Linked DNA regions of Homo sapiens: regions 1 and 2 are each linked to region 3. Evidence: promoter capture Hi-C in 16 types of primary human blood cells and fetal thymus (Javierre and others, 2016). All regions are on one chromosome and are shown on one strand. The core of a region is centred on a gene start or on the middle of the fragment in contact, and the rest is flanking DNA. Distances in the headings are between cores, read along the strand shown.

Region 1 (3,226 bases), core at 271-2,770, 260 kb after region 3:
GGTGAAGCCAGCTGGGCTCCTGAGTCTGGTGGGGACGTGGAGAGTCTTTATATCTAGCTCAGGGATTGTAAATACACCAATCAGCACTCTGTGTTTAGCTCAAGGTTTGTGAGTGCACCAATCGACACTCTGTATCTAGCTGCTCTGGTGAGGACGTGGAGAACCTTTAAGTCTAGCTCAAGGTTTGTAAATACACCAATCAGCACCCTGTGTTTAGCTCAAGGTTTGTGAGTGCACCAATCGACACTCTGTATCTAGCTGCTCTCGTGGGGCCTTGGAGAACCTGTGTGTCGAAACTCTGTATCTAACTAATCTGATGGGGACGTGGAGAACCTTTGTATCTAGCTCAGGGATTGTAAACGCACCAATCAGCGCCCTGACAAAACAGGCCACTGGGCTCTACCAATCAACAGGATGTGGGTGGGGCCAGATAAGAGAATAAAAGCAGGCTGCCCTAGCCAGCATTGGCAACCCTCTCGGGTCCCCTTCCACACTGTGGAAGCTTTGTTCTTTCACTCTTTGCAATAAATCTTGCTACTGCTCACTCTTTGGGTCCACGCTGCTTTTATGAGCTGTGACACTCACCGTGAAGATCTGCAGCTTCACTCCTGAGCCCAGCGAGACCACGAGCCCGCCAGGAGGAACGAACAACTCCAGACGCGCTGCCTTAAGAGCTGTAACACTCACCGTGAAGGTCTGTAGCTTCACTCCTGAGCCAGCGAGACCACGAACCCACCAGAAGGAAGAAACTCCGAACACATCTGAACATCAGAAGGGACAGACTCCAGACACGCCACCTTAAGAGCTGTAACACCGCGAGGGTCCGCGGCTTCATTCTTGAAGTCAGTGAGACCAAGAACCCACCAATTCTGGACACAGTAGGACATGGGTACAATTCAGCCAATTTTTTTGCCATTTTGTAAAAAGAATGGTCTTTCCTCCAGTTTCTGATACGATATTCCTCATTTCTGTTTAAGAGATCATCAGAATGGCTTTTGCTATCCATATTTCTACCAACATTCCATTCTTCCTTTTAGCCCTCACTGGAACTATCCTTAATGCTTCTTTTATGGCAATCTAAGCTTTTCCTAGCATTCACTTCAAAACTACTCCAGCCTCTACCTATTACCCAGTTCAAAAGCCACTTCCACATTTTCAGGTATTTATTATAGCAACGACATCATTTCTTCGTATCAATTTCTGGCTTAGTTCATTTTGTGCTGTTATAACAAAATACCTGAGACTGAGTAATAAAGAACAGAAATTATTTCTTACAGTTTGAAGGCTGGGAAGTCCAAGATCAAAGCACTCATATTTGGGATCTGGTGAGGGCCTTCTGCTGCATCTTCACATGGTGGAAGGGGTGAAAAGAGCAAAAGGGGCAGATCTTGTGTCCTCATATGGTGGAAGAGTGGATAAGCAAAAGGGGCCTGAGCTAGTTCTGTCCAGCCCTTTTATAAGGCACTAATCCATCTGAGAGGGCAGACCCCTAATGATGTAATCACTTCCCCAAAGGCCCTGCCTCTTAATACCACCACAGTGGGGATTCAGTTACAAACCTGAGTTTTGGAGAGGTAACATATTCAAACCATAACACCATGTATGTAGTATTACACATGGAATAATTATTGACTATTGAACCAGTCTTGCATTTCTGGGATAAAATCCACGTCATGATATATTATCCTTTTATAGATTGCTGGATTTAAGTTGCTTGTATTTTGACATGAGGATTTTTGTATCTGTAGTCAAGAGGGATATTGTACTGTAGTTTTCTTCTTTTGCAATATCTCTGTCTGATTTTGGTCTCAGGGTAAAGCTGGCTTCATAAATGAGTTGGGAAGGGCACCCTCCTCTTTATTTTGTAAGAGTTTGTGTAGAATATGACATTATTCCTTTTTTAAATATCTTGATAGAGTTTGTCCGTGAAACAATCTAGGTTTGGAATATTTGTTGTTGGAAGCTTTTTAGCTGTAACATTTGTTGAATAAGGTTTTAACATACTCCATTTCTTTTCTTTTTTCTCTTTACTTTTTTTTTTTTTTTTGAGACTGAGTTTCGCTCTTTTTGCCCAGGCTGGAGTGCAATGGCGCGACCTCGGCTCATTGCAACCTCAGCCTCCTGGGTTCAGTTGATTCTCCTGCCTCACCCTCCCTAGTAGCTGGGATTACAGGTGCCTGCCACCACGCCTGGCTAATTTTTGTATTTTTAGTAGAGATAGGGTTTCACCATGTTGGCCAGGCTGGTCTCAAACTCAGGCGATCCACCCGCCTCAGCCTCCCAGAGTGCTGGGATTACAGGCGTGAGCCACTGCACCCGGCCTCATATTCGATTTCTTTAGTGACCTGTATCATTTATTCAGTACTTTTTTTTCTTTATGTGAGCTTTGACAGTTTGAATCTTTCATGAAGTTTGTCCATTTCATCTAAGTTGTTGAATTTATGGGCAGAATGTTGTTTGTACTATTTCTCCTTATTTTCTCAATGTCTGTAAAGTATGTAGTGAAACCCTCTCTCTTTTTTTTTTTTTTTTTTTGAGACAGGGTCTTACTCTGTCACCCAGGATGGAGTGCAGTGGTGCAGTCGTGGCTCACTGCAACCTCTGCCTCCTGGGTTCAAGCGATTCTTCCTCCTCAGCCTCCCCAGTAGCTGGAACTACAGGTGTGCACCACTGCGCCTAGCTAATTGTTTTGTATTTTTTGGTAGAGATGGCATTTCACCATGTTGGCCAGGCTGGTCTCTAATTCCTGACCTCAGGTGATCTGCTACGTCGGCCTCTCAAAGTGCTGGGATTACAGGTGGGAGCCATCGCGCCTGGCTGGCTTTTTATCACTTTTGTTACTTTTTCAAGGAACCAGCTTTTGGTTTTACTGATTTTTTGTTGTTGTTGTTCTCAATTTCATTGATATCTGCTCTTTATTATTTTCTTCCTTCGTTTTGTTTGAATTTAATTTCCTAGTCTTTTTATGGTTTCTTAAGGTGGCAGCTTAGATTTGTAGTCTTCTTTTCTAATAAGATATAATGCAATAAATTTCCCTCTAAGCACAGTGTACAGGCATCCCACATTTTTGATATATTTTCATTTTTATGCAGTTCAAAATATCTTCTATTTTCTGTGATCTCCTCTTTAGCCAATGGGTCATTTAGAAGTTTTGAGTTTTTTAAGGCTGGGAGTGGTGGCTTCTGCCTGTAATCCCAGCACTCTGGGAGGGTGAGGGTGGTGAATC
Region 2 (3,071 bases), core at 434-2,933, 290 kb after region 3:
TCATCCAATAATCCTTATATCTGTGTTAGAGTTTGTTTCAGAGCCCTTGAAAACCAAGAGCAAACATTAATTAAACATCTACTATATTACTATATAAGTCACTGGGGAGAATATAAAGTTGAATAATATATAACATTAGCTTTACACTGAGAAAGTAGGTTTTGAGATTCTGAATAAATGTTGAATGAAATGGACATCCCCTTTCCTGGGCACACAGGTTCTCCATTACCTCTTTTATAGGTGTGGTTTTGTTCATTTGTTTGTTTTTGTTTTAAAAAAATTATGGTTAAGCTATACATCTCTTTATTCATTTCCTTCCTTTTAGACCTCGGCTTCTGTAAAACCTCTCTATATTTTTCGTCTTTAATATTCTTTTTCAGTTGTTGTCCAAGCTTTTCTTTCTCTCCATCTCTATTTGCCTGTTTTTTTTTTAGTTTTTAATACAATTATTCATATTTATGAAAAGTTATCTTTCACTTTAGTTGCTTTGACCTTCAGCTAACATGTATCTGTATTTTTGGAATATTATAGGGGATAGGTTATTTGTTATACAGGTTTAAATTTGACATAATACTCTTATACTACTCTCAATGTATTTGAATTATATCTTGTTTTATTCTAGGATGTGATCTAAACTTTTTCTTAAATACTATCTTTTTTTGAAATGATCTTATGATGACATTTATATATGTGGAAGTATAGGGCCCACAGATCAAATGCTGCTGCTTCTTTTTGTTGTTTTTGAGATGGGGTGTCACTCTGTTGCCCAGGCTGGAGTACAGTGGCATGATCTCAGTTCACTGCCACCTTCACCTCCAGGCTTAAGCCATCCTCCTGCCTCAGACTCCTGAGTAGCTGGGACTACAGGCGCGCACCACCACACTTGGTTAATTTTTTGTATTTAAATGCTTCTTACACAAATTAAGTGCTTCATATCTTAGGAGGTCATCTGTGTTTTTCCATCTACTGTTTTCCAAAGGACTGAATTCCTGAGCAAGTCTACCCTTGCTTGGCTAGGTGCTGGGCAGATACCAATTTCTAAACAGAGTTCTTGTATTGACTTTTTTGATTATAAAATACTATAATTTAAGCCATTATAATTTTAAAAGAATAAATACTGTTATTTTTAGTAAGATATTTTAAACAAAATTACCCTTATTTGATTTTTTTTCTTTTTTTCTTTTAGCAGCTGATGGACCATCAGAAAAGGACCTTAACAAAGTCCTTCAGCTTTTGGAACCTCAAATTTCCTTTTTAGAAGACCTGACTAAAATGGGAGGAGCAATGCGGTCTGTTCTTACTCAGGTTTTGACAAACCAACAAAACTACAAAGATCTGACTTCTGGTGAGTAAAATGTTAGAAGAAATTTATAGTTTTCATATCTTACTATAATGATAAGAAATTGAGTCTTTTAGAACTTAAAGGTAAATTGTAGAATTTTCATAGAATGCTAAAGCTGGAAGTTATTAAGAGAACTTCTTTTTTTTTTTTTTTTTGAGACGGAGTCTAGCTCTGTCGCCCAGGCTGGAGTGCAGTGGCGCAATCTCGGCTCACTGCAAGCTCCGCCTCCTGGGTTCACGCCATTCTGCCTCAGCCTCCCGAGTAGCTGGGACTACAGGCGCCCGCCACTACGCCCAGCTAATTTTTTGTATTTTTAGTAGAGGCGGGGTTTCACTGTGTTAGCCAGGATGGTCTCGATCTCCTGACCTCATGATCCGCCCGCCTTGGCCTTCCGAAGTGCTGGGATTACAGGCGTGAGCCACTGCGCCTGGCAAGAGAACTTCTTGTTTTATGGATGAGGAAATTGAGCCCTAGGAAAATGAAATGGCCTGTTTAAACCTCACAATTAATTTATGTTGGAGTTGGTACTGGAACCTAGGTCTCCTAACTTTTGGTGTGACATGATAATTATGCTCTGCCTCTCTTTATTGTATTGTATTGTATTGTATTGTATTGTATTGTATTTTTTTGAGACAGAGTCTTGCTCTGTTGCCCAGGCTGGAGTGCAGTGGCGTGATCTCAGCCCACTGCAACCTCTGCCTCCTGGGTTCAAGCGATTCTCCTGCCTCAGCCTCCCGAGTAGCTGGGATTACAGGTACCTGCCATCATGCCCAGCTAATTTTAATTTTTGTATTTTTGTAGAGACAGGGTTTTAACCATGTTGGCCAGGCTGGTCTTGAGCTCCTGACCTCGGGTGATCTGCCAGCCTTGGCCTCCTAAAGTGCTGAGATTACAGGCATGAGCCACCACGCCCGGCCCTACGTCTCTTTCTTTAAACGCAAGGCTGAGAAGTGATCCCCTTTCTTTAACAGTAACAACCATCATGTCTATGTTTTCACTTTTGATATTTTAAGTTTTTGTGTTGTATCGCCTAGGATTTTCTAATATACAGCTTAAGTTATAAAACTTGGAATTGTTGAATGGTGTATTGTTATACAAAACATTCATACGCCTTTCCCAAGCACTCTGCTTTCGATAACTGCATGCTTGGTATTACGAGAGCACAGACTGTCAAACCAGAAGGTGAATTCCGCTACATAATTATTATCTACCATATTACCTCTCTGACTTTCTTTACTGTAATTTTCAGGTTCCTTTAAAGTTCGGATCATGTCTTATTAATTCTTGTGCCCCACATTCCCTTGGATATTTTAGATGCCCACCTACTTTGTAGATTTCATTATTTGGTATAAACATGCTGTGTATTCTCGGATTGTTAGTGCTAAACATAAGCACAAAAGTGTTATTTGAAGCTATCTTATATTATTCATTCTAGGGCTCCCACTCCATTAGAATATTCACCTATTTATAGATACTAGTTAATGAAAAGACCATACTGAGATTTTGAATGGAATATTTTTTTCTGATTTGAAGTTTGTTTTAATTAGGTCTTGGAGAAAATGCTTGTGTAAAGAAAAGTCATGAAAAGTACCTTATAGCTTTAAAGAGCTCTGGACTTACATATCCTGAGGATAAGCTTGTATATGGTGTGCAGGAGCCATCTGCTGGTACTAGTTCTCTGGCTGTTCAAGGTTTGTCTAAATATTTAATTTGAACAGTTGTAACTTTT
Region 3 (3,310 bases), core at 1-2,500:
ATTCTGACTGGTATGAGATAGTATCTCACTGCGGTTTTGATTTGCATTTTTCTGATGATTGGTGGTGTTGAGCTTTTTCATTATGATTGTTGGCTGCAAGTATGTCTTCTTTCGAAAAGCGTTGGCCGGGCGTGGTGGCTCACACCTGTAATCCCGGCACTTTGGGAGGCCAAGGAGGACGGATCACCTGAGGTTGGGAGTTTGAGACCAGCCTGACCTACATGGAGAAACCCTGTCTCTACTAAAAATACAAAAAATTAGCCAGGCCAGTCTGTGGCCCAGGGGTTGGGGACCCCTGTTTTAAGGTATTGCAGAATTGTCCCCTCCACACACAGCGAAGTGTAAATCCGTTTAATCTCTGAACTATCTAAAGATGAATATGCTGCTGCTCTCCTGCAATAAAGGGCAATGACTTAAAAGAGGTGGGGGTGGAGAGGCAGAAATGTCCTCTGTTTTACTGCTGTGTAAAACTGGTCACGCCCCTTAGAAGCACCACCACATGCCTAACTGTTGTTGATAATTAATTTACCTGATGCAAGTGAGTGAAAAATTTAAATGATCATAATTTACGTTGCCTTTAAACGACAGAACAATTTAAGTCCTCTAGTTAGCTAGTTCCTTTAAAACACACCCCACATCCCTACCAGAATCACTGCCCATCCCCCCCCACCCCCCCGCCCAAACAGCAATGGTTATTTATTTCTAACATAATCCGGGGACCCTTGCCCCTTAAAATAATTAAATAATATATGCCATATTTTCTCTAGAAGGCACTAGATTTGGCATCAAAAGACTTGCTTTGGCATTCAAGAACAGTGTGTTTGAGGAGGAGGCGTTTATCTTCCCTGAGCCTCAATTTCTTTATCTGTAAAACAACAAAGAACATCAAAGCTCTTTGTAATTTCTTCCTCTTTCCTCAAATAACACTTTGCTCATTACTGCGTTTTTAGAACTTATATCCTAGCGTTAAGTGGAAGCTTAACTGGAAGCTCCATGAAGGTAGGCCTTCCTTTCTGATAACCTAGCGTAAGATCAATAAATGTTTATTAAATGAGGCACTTTACTTCACAAAGGATATGGCATTTTAACGGTTACAAGCGTTCCCAGTCAACGCATCCACAAAGCATTAGGCCACCTATAAACTAGGAATTTAAAAGGCACCAAAATCCTAGAAGTCCTAGGAGGGCGTGGTGACGCAAGCAGGTGAACGCTGGCCGATGCTGACAACCCACTCCTGACGCGCTTCCGGTGCGACGCTGTCTCTCCATGCCAGGACTGAGTTGTGGGGGAGGGAGGCGGTTAGCGGGCTTTAGCGCCTTTTCTGGCGGCGGTAGATTTGAAGCGCTTCAAAGGACCGGACCCAGAGAAGAGGAAAACTCTACCGGTGCAGGTAAGTGGTATGAGGCTCAAGTTGTTCTGGCGGCGTCATTTCAGCAGTCCCTGCGTACGAAAGCGGGAAGGGCCTGGGAAGAGGGGCGGAGCCGGCGCGGCTGACCGGGTTGGGTTTACCGTCTTTCCCTCGAGGTATCGGGGCTGCTTGGGCCCAGAGGAAGTCCCTGAGGACCGCAGCAGTGCCTTTGCCGCTGTTGCAGAAGGAGAAGGCTTGCAGTCGAGCCCCGGGGCCTGGGGACGGTCCTTCCTCTGCCAGCCCCCGCCCTCCCCACTCAGGCGCACACCTCCCTCACTGACGCATTTTGCCGCACAAGCTGTAACATGGCGGCAGCGACTGCGGCCTGAACTCTAGGGAGCCGGGTTGATTTTTAAAGCTTCAAAATCCTAAGACTCAGCACTGTTGCGGGGTAGGTGGCGGGACTGGTGGGGAAGGGGGAGACAGCCTGACGTCCTGTCAGGCTAGGGTTGGAGAGTGACGGGCGAAGAGCCTGAATCACAGGGATTAAAATTGAAGACTAGCTTTCCTCCTCTTTCGACCTTTTCCTCTCACAGCACAGTGGCTGTCGTGCAGTTAAGTGGCAGAGGCCACTTTGTTAAGCATTTTTCTAAAACTCAAGTCCAGGGTCTTGAGCTCTCGCGAAGTTCCCCCGTGTTTCGGAGGAGCTGTGAGCTGCGCAGGCCTTTTAGGAGGAGATAATTACTCTTTAGGAGGAAGATGATGATTTCGGGGCTCAGTATGCCTGAAGGGGAAGTATGCTAATTTGGTTCTTGGTTAGTCTTTTTTTTTGAGACGGAGTCTCGCTCTGTCGCCTAGGCTGGAATGCAGTGGCGCGATCTTGGCTCACTGCAACCTCCGCCTCCTGGGTTCAAGTGATTCTTCTGCCTCAGCCTCCCAAGTAGCTGGGACTACAGGCACGTGCCACCATGCCCGGCTAATTTTTTGTGTTTTTAGTAGAGACGGGTTTTCACCGTGTTAGCCAGGATGGTCGATCTCCTGACCTCGTGATCCGCCCACCTCGGCCTCCCAAAGTGCTGGGATTACAGGCGAGAGCCACCGCGCACGGCCAGCTCATGTTTAGTCTTAAGGAGCAAAGTCTAGATGTGCTGGCAAGGAGTATGCACAATCGTTTTGGAAATGCTATAAAAGCACCATTTTGTGCATTGATTTTAATTTCTTTCCACGATAGCCCTTTCTGTGTGTAACCAACATTTTGCAGTAGTGAACACAAATACAAAAGTATTTGCTTTTATAGTTTGGTACTAACATAGTTGTCCAAAGAACAATTAGATGTTTTAGAAATTAGGGGGGCCTGATATTAACTTTCAGTAGTTAAAACCAGGAAAAAAGAGTGAGTGTGTGTGTGTGTCGGTCACACACACGTTTTTGTCTTTGTGTATTCCCATTTGGTAACAGGATGGCCGGTAATTGCTACTTTGTAACAATGACGGGTGGGGGGGTGAACATTTTATAAATTTTGAAATCGTGCTATAAAATCCAGAAAAGATACATTTAGAATGGCTGCTTCTCTCCTGTTTTTAATATATCCTGAAAATTTACCCGTTTTAGCACTCCCCTTTTTTTTATGTTAACGAGTTGGGACAGAATTATTTCTGTAACAAATTACATGGTTCTGTGTCTTAAACAAGAGTTCATTGTACATTGTTTGACTATTTCTTTATGATTCAGAATTATTGATGCTCTGAGATCCTATAGGGTCTTGTAGTAGGATTCTGCGCATTTGAATTGTTGGTTTCCTTTTTAAGGCTTTTCTAGGCAGTCAGTTGTCAGGAGTGCTCCTGCTGTCAGGAGTGTATAAGTATGTAAACTTCTTAGGTTAGAAAAATTTGGACTTTCTGGCCCAATTATCTTTCTGAGCTTCAGTTTCTTCACCTACCTGCAAAATGACATTTTGATCTC

The links. Contacts are between HindIII fragments. The CHiCAGO score rates a contact against its expected background, and 5 or more counts as called.
Region 1: a contact is called between a fragment that was not itself captured here and the fragment with the promoter of PPIG in region 3, in 3 of 17 cell types (fetal thymus, naive B cells and naive CD8 T cells). The highest score is 5.9, in fetal thymus.
Region 2: a fragment that was not itself captured here is called in contact with the fragment with the promoter of PPIG in region 3 in 4 of 17 cell types (total B cells, activated CD4 T cells, erythroblasts and 1 more); the score reaches 5.6 in total B cells.

The regions. Positions count from the first base shown.
Region 1 is chr2:169,841,977-169,845,202 of GRCh38, forward strand. All of the region lies in intron 1 of UBR3 (ubiquitin protein ligase E3 component n-recognin 3), which reads left to right. Among named protein-coding and RNA genes, the nearest start is that of UBR3, 16 kb to the left of the region's middle. The HindIII fragment of the contact is 881 bases long and covers 1,081-1,961 here.
Region 2 is chr2:169,874,605-169,877,675 of GRCh38, forward strand. It overlaps UBR3 (ubiquitin protein ligase E3 component n-recognin 3), which reads left to right. Exons shown (of 39, transcript NM_172070.4): 3 at 1,187-1,345; 4 at 2,890-3,033. Among named protein-coding and RNA genes, the nearest start is that of UBR3, 49 kb to the left of the region's middle. The HindIII fragment of the contact is 2,586 bases long and covers 391-2,976 here.
Region 3 is chr2:169,583,101-169,586,410 of GRCh38, forward strand. It overlaps PPIG (peptidylprolyl isomerase G), which reads left to right and starts at 1,251. Exons shown (of 14, transcript NM_004792.3): 1 at 1,251-1,390. RefSeq lists an enhancer at 1,167-1,216. The HindIII fragment of the contact is 789 bases long and covers 976-1,764 here.